Regions from separate parts of the Homo sapiens genome. Here region 1 is linked to region 2. Evidence: promoter capture Hi-C in 16 types of primary human blood cells and fetal thymus (Javierre and others, 2016). All regions are on one chromosome and are shown on one strand. Each heading gives the region's core, a stretch centred on a gene start or on the middle of the fragment in contact. The rest is flanking DNA. Distances are from core to core; before and after follow the strand shown. Region 1 has its middle 6.6 kb from the start of CBX6. Region 2 holds the start of RPL3 (ribosomal protein L3).

What was found. Contacts are between HindIII fragments. The CHiCAGO score rates a contact against its expected background, and 5 or more counts as called.
Region 1: a contact is called between a fragment that was not itself captured here and the fragment with the promoter of RPL3 in region 2, in 9 of 17 cell types (total B cells, naive CD8 T cells, naive B cells and 6 more). The highest score is 8.4, in total B cells.

What each region holds. Positions count from the first base shown.
Region 1 is chr22:38,877,086-38,880,479 of GRCh38, reverse strand. No RefSeq gene overlaps it. Among named protein-coding and RNA genes, the nearest start is that of CBX6, 6.6 kb to the right of the region's middle. The HindIII fragment of the contact is 2,580 bases long and covers 459-3,038 here.
Region 2 is chr22:39,317,794-39,320,936 of GRCh38, reverse strand. RPL3 (ribosomal protein L3) reads left to right here and starts at 1,314. Exons shown (of 10, transcript NM_000967.4): 1 at 1,314-1,342; 2 at 2,345-2,537. The coding sequence starts at 1,340. It overlaps SNORD43 (small nucleolar RNA, C/D box 43), which reads left to right and starts at 1,824; the gene lies at 1,824-1,885. RefSeq lists enhancers at 1-545, 710-1,129, 546-1,435, 1,520-1,569, 1,436-2,325. The HindIII fragment of the contact is 13,460 bases long and covers 1-1,741 here.

The DNA.
Region 1 (3,394 bases), core at 499-2,998, 440 kb after region 2:
CCGTGTGCACATCCATCTCTTCAAGCATCTCAGTTCCTCCAGGGCAGAAATCCCATCTTTTCTACTTTGCATTCCCAGAGCCCATTGCAGAGAGGGGGAGAGAGATGCAGCAAGCAGTTGCTGGACCTGAATCCCTATACATGTTATATGGTCAAAATTACTCTTAACAAGCCCTTCAATGGCACACCCAACAAATATTAATTGGAAAATATATATATATGAATTGGATACCTACTGTGTGCAGGGCCCTGTGTTAGCACTGGAGAAAAAGTGGGAACCAGATGGGCAAAGTCCCTGCCACTGTGGAGCCTGGCGTCTAGTGAGGAAGTCAGGCATTAAATAAATGGTCATATTAAACAAACCATTCCTATAACGCCAGATAGTGTTAAGGACCAGGGGAAAAAATAGACATTGTAACCAAAAAGTGTCTGAGACAGGCCTCGATCAATTGAGAAGCTTATATTGCCAAGGTCAAGGACATGTCCGGAAGATAGTGAATTCGGGTCCTGAGTTTTTATTTTTCTTTCTCATCTATGGGGAGAGAGGGTGGTGGGTAGGAGTTGGGGCTCCTTTACATAAGGTCATCAGAGGAAATCTTTTTGAAGAGGTAACATCTGAGCAGAGATTGAAAGAACTGAAGAAGCCACCGTGCCACCCCTGGGAGAAGATGGGACTGTTCTAGGTAGAGGGAACAGCAAGGATCAAGGGCCTGGGGTGGGAGCAGCTTGGAGTTTGCAGAGCCTATAAAGTACCATACTCAGCTGCTGTGTCTCATCCCTCCGCAGTAACATCTGTTCCCTGCTCGGATCCCCAGGGGTCCCTGTTCTATGTCCCCCCAAGCCCACCCATGTGCCTTTCCTCCAGCAGCCAGCATCTATAGCTCTCCTTCCAAAGGCCATCCCCAGGGTACTGAAGCCACTTTGCAGACAGAGGCAGAAAGCAGCACGTGTCTGGGGGATCAACATTCCCCCCACCTAATACCCTTGCCCTGCAGCCTGTAACCAGGGTCTGGTGGGTGGGGGAAAATATTGAGGAATAACTTACTCTCCAGATCCCTTGAGGCGTGAGGCTGGGGCCACTCACTGCAGGACTTTAGCTCGACACCTTACTCTCTGCTTGCTTCCTTCCCTTTCCTATCTTGCTTCACTCATTCCCTTAGCAATCTCCCCTGGGAGCACTTCCTTAATAAGTCACTTACATGTGACTAAGACAATCACATAAGGGGTTGAGTTGCAGCAGTGTGCAGTGTATAGTGATAAAGACATCTGCAGAAAATCATTTTACATTTTCTAAATGATGGAGACAAGTGCAGAGTTGACTCTGTGTTGAGTTAAATGTCCAGATGATGCCACACCCTCCACATTCTAACTCACACCCCAGCCCTCCAGGACCTCAAATCAGGGACAGAATGAAGGCCTGTGGCCTGTGGTCCCAAGCTCAAGGCACTGACTTCTGGCATCAGGGAGGGGATAGTCCATTCTGGAAAGTGGACTTGGATAGATCTTCAATGGGATTGGAGCTAAAGTACTCTTTCCCAATTCTGACACTGTCCACAGCCTTAAGAGACTCTGTGCCTCAACCATGCCAGGCTGACAGTCGAAGCCTGGGACAAAGCTACCTCCTCCCATCCCTGAGTCCCTCCTTGCCCCAGGTGCAGACAAACTCTGTTTGGCAAAGGCCTCACTCCCCATCCCTGCAAAGCCCAGTTCAGCACCTTCATTCCTTGATTTGTCCCACAGATATTTATGAGGCACCCACATGTGTCTGATGCTAGGGACATGGAGGCATAGCCCATGAGTCCCAACCACACCCAACTGGTAGAAGTCACAAAGGTAAGATGCCCAGAATTCTGCAGGTGCCTTTGTGAAAGGAGTGTCTGGCCCCAGGGATCCCATCAGCTTTAAGCATGAGCTGTGTCCCAACTAGGGACCCTTGAGGTAAATTATTACAATAATAGCTCTGCGTTCCCTTTTCAGTGTGACCCTGCCACTCCTCCCATCCAGGCATGGAGTCTCTTTCCCTGTTCCTGAATCTGGACTGGCCTGATATATTAGTTTGCTATGCTCTATCACTGATTGCTTAAAGCAATACCCCTTTATCATTTCAGTTTCTGTGGGTCAGAAGTCCAGGCACAGCTTAACTGAAGTCTCTGCTCAGGGTCTCACAGGCTGCAATCCAGGTGTCAGCTGGCGCCACATCCCCATCTGAAAACTCAGAGTTCTCCTCCAAGCTCAGTGGCTAGTCACAGAATTCAGATCCTTGTGATTGTAGGACTGAGGTCCTCAGCTCCTGGAAACCACCCACCACCGTTCCTGCCACATGGCCCTCTCCACAACATGGCATCTTGCCTCTTCAAGGTCAACAGGAGCGCAATTCCACTGCTTCCAACCTTTCCTCTTGGGAGAGGCTTGGATTGTCTTTCAAAGAGCTCGCCTGATTAGGTCAGACCAAGATAAACTCCCTTTTGAATAAGTCAAAGTCAACTTAAAGGACCTTAATTATGTCTACAAAACCTTGTTTGTTTGTTTTTGAGACAGAGTGTTGCTCTGTTGCCCAGGCTGGAGTGCAGTGGCACAATCTTGGCTCACTGCAACCTCCGTCTCCCAGGTTCAAGTGATTCTCCTGCCTCAGCTTCCCCAGTAGCTGGGATTACAGGTGTCCACTACCACGCCCAGTTAATTTTTGTATTTTTAGTAGAGATGGGGTTTCATCATATCGGCCAGGCTGGTCTCAAACTCCCGACCTCAGGTGATCTACCCACCTCGGCCTCCCAAAGTGCTGGAATTACAGGCAGGAACCACCACACCCGGCCTGTTTTTTCAATATAACCTAATCATGGGAGCAAAATCCCAACACGTTCCTTAGGTCCCTCTCATGCTCAAAGGGAGGGGATTATACAGGACATGTACACTGGGTTGGGGGAGGCAGGAACCTTAGTGGCCTTGAAATCTGCTCACCATACCTTGTGACTTGCTTTGACCAACAGAATGCAGAGGGAGCAATGTTGTGTAAGTTCCAAGGCAAGACCTTAAGAAGCTTTGTGTGTCTCTCACCTTCTTGTGTGACTCCTGGAACCACATAAGCAAGCTTGAAGTAGACTATGAATGATGAGAGACCACGAGGAGAGAGAGGCCCAGCCAGCATCCAGTACTATGACTCCAGATGTACACATCAAGCCTTGGCCTTGTCTCTGACCGTGGCCACACCAGTTACCCTATACAAGAGCAGGAAAGAGAACCATCCAAAGTGCCCGTCAAACACAGAATCATGAGAGATAATAGATTCTTGTGTTTTAAGCTACTAAATTTTTGTTTGCTGTACTACAGGTTTTTTTGGTGAAAGGAAGGTAAGTCTCAGGACCCCCAAATCACTAAGCCAAAAAGAAAGTTGTTGG
Region 2 (3,143 bases), core at 65-2,564:
GACCTCAGGTGATCCGCCCGCCTCGGTCTCCCAAAGTGTTGGGATTACAGGCGTGAGCCACCGCGCCTGGCCGAGAGAATGCTTTTCAAACGACGGTGGGAGCAAAGGCCAGGCCCAGAATTAAAGAAGATGACAGGGTGGGACAGAGGAAGCAGGTGATATGAGAGCGTGTGCTCTGGCGCAGCCATGAGGCTGAAGTAGACGGTTAGGGGAGCGTCTTTGGTGGCCGCTGAAGTTGATGCTTAATTCCGAGGAAACAACGAGGCGGCCATGGAAAGTAACGAGATACTTGATTCTTAGAAAGATTTGTAGGGGGCCAGGCGCGGTGGCTCACACCTGTAATCCCAGCACTTTGGGAGGCCGAGGCGGGCGGATCACGAGATCAGGAGTTCAAGACCAGCCTGGCCAACATGGTGAAACACCGTCTCCACTAAAAATACAAAAAAAAAAAAAAAAAAAATTAGCCAGGCATGGTGGCGCATTCCTGTAATCCCAGCTACTCGGGAGGCTGAGGCAGGAGAACTGCTTGAACTGGGAACCGGTAGGCGGAGCTTGCAGTGAGCTGAGATCGCGCCACTGCGACAGAGCGAGACTCCGTCTCAAAAAAGAGATTTGTAAGGGACCAGCCTGGAAGCAGGGAATCGGTCAGGATCCGAGTCACCCTGGAGCCTAGGCAGAGATCAGCGAAAGCCCTCGCTGATGCATAGGTCTGGAAGGCGTGGGGCTCCGGGAGGCTGAGCAGCTGGACTCGGCATGACCAGAGGTCGTGAGGCCGTTCCGCAGGCTTGGGACGCTCCTGACCCTCAGAATCAAGCGCGGGCCACTGCATTAGCATGGGAGAAATGGCAGAGATAGGGCTTGAGGGAGGGATGCCCGAGATTAAAGGTATTAAAGGTAAATTGGTGTCGCCGCAAAACCAGCGTGGGAGCCAGGAAACGAGAGTTTCAGTCTTTCTTCGCTAATTCCAGAGATAGCTGCATATCACAGGAGGAGAAGCGACGCAGCCATTTTTCTTCGTTATTATCAAATTTGGCTGCTGCCGGACGCCGTAGATTTGTGGCTCACCCACCCTTAGCCCACCTCTCCGCGGCTTTTCACTAAGTTTGAACCCGACCCCTCGCCGTAGAGTGTGTAATTTCTGTCTCCGAAGCTGACGTCAACTTCTGAACGAAAGCTAGGAGCGGAAGAGCGTGCGTGGAAATGGCGCTCGGTACGTGCCCCCGACCTGTCGTCTGCCGCGGGGGCGCGCTCGCACGCCGGAAGGGGCGGGGCCAGATTTGGCTTTATATAGCGGACCCGTAAGGCCGACCGGCCTCTACCGGCGGGATTTGATGGCGTGATGGTATGTGTTGTAATGGCGGCCGTTTCATTGTCACCGGCGTCGGCACGGCTGAATCCGCGACGCATCGCCGCCATCCCGTCTTGGCCGGCGCCGGGGGTTTGCTTTAGGGGCACGGGCGACCCAGCGGGGACTTCAGTCTGGCCTATTTTCTGGAAAGTCGAGAGGCTTGTGAAGAGCGCTTGGAGGACTGGCTTTGGGCCTGCAGGTCGGCCAGAGAGAGGCCGTAAGGGTGGGAGCAGGCTTGGAGGCCCGGCGTTTTTAAAGCCATGAGTCATTTCTAAGTTTCGACCTCACCAATTCTATCATTAGTTGGGATTAGGGCCCATAACCTGCTTGTCTGGGTAGAAGGACCTTGGGTGGAGGTTCTCGGCGCCGTTCTCATTGGGAGGTAAAGAAGCTTGGGGGAGGGGAGTGTTGTGGAGTCCTCCTGAATATCTGGGGCCGCTGGTGCACTCCGAAGGCCTCTGGAGCTCGCAGAAACCACAGATGATGAACTTATTGACGGGCGGACAGAAACTGTGTGCTGATTGTCACGTTCTGATTTGGCTCTGCGGAGTTCTTTGGCCTGTGTGTATCAGTGTAATTAGTGTCCGGGCACCGGAGGCAGCCTATAGCTTAACATTGCTAGCTGCTACCCAGCGTTTGTCCCGGGAGTCCCTTTCTTTAGCGGTCAAAACCTTGCTAATTGGCATATAAAGCTGCCTGTTAAGCAGTTTTTAGTGCCACTACTTAGTGTATTTTTGTGTGGTTAGATAAAAAAAATGGGTCGTTTTCTTACAGGTTGAGAGGATTTGAAATAAGATTCAGCTTAAATTTTGTCGAATACAAAAGCATTCTTGACACGTGCGAGCCTGGAAGAGATAATGACCTTTTTATTCGGCTTGCTGGGTGTCTGGTCAGGATTCTTCAGTATTGCTGAGATTTGGAACTTAAGCAGCTGGGAACTAGAGAAGGGGGCACTGCTTTGGTTTGGGTGCTGACGGTGATTTTTTTCCCACCTAGTCTCACAGAAAGTTCTCCGCTCCCAGACATGGGTCCCTCGGCTTCCTGCCTCGGAAGCGCAGCAGCAGGCATCGTGGGAAGGTGAAGAGCTTCCCTAAGGATGACCCGTCCAAGCCGGTCCACCTCACAGCCTTCCTGGGATACAAGGCTGGCATGACTCACATCGTGCGGGAAGTCGACAGGCCGGGATCCAGTATGTACAGACATCCTAAAAGTTGGGGGAATAGGAGTGGAGGGGGAGGGAAATTGTAGAGATGGAGTCAAGCTGTTAGCAGAGGGCAGACTTTTTTTTTTAAGCAGGAGTTACACGTTGTCAGAACTGCTGCGACAGCAGAATGGGAATGCTTAACTTGAAAACTAATATTCCAAGGCTACAGATGGTCAGCACTGTTTGCTTTAGGTGCGGTGTGGGGTATTGATTTCAGAGCATAGTAAATTTGCCAGGAACCTTAGCAAAGAGAAGTTAACACTAGTGTGGGGGGTTGGAGCTGCTGAGGCTGGCATAAGAACTGCCTCATTCATGTTTTTTTCACCTGAAAGCTTGAATAATGGCCACTTACCTGTGTGTGTTCTACTTAGAGATGTCTAACAGCACTGGTTGCTGAGCCATGGAGACATTAATGTTAGGCAGTTGATACTGACTAATCTCTGAGCTCAGAGCTATTGTTAGGGCACTGAATTTTCCAGATAAATAGCAATCTTGTCTGCCTCCAGAGGTTTCTGTAGAAGAGAATTGAAGCTGGACAGGTATTTGGCTGTCTAGGGTCCTGATATTTTTTGTTTGAATAACATAAATGTG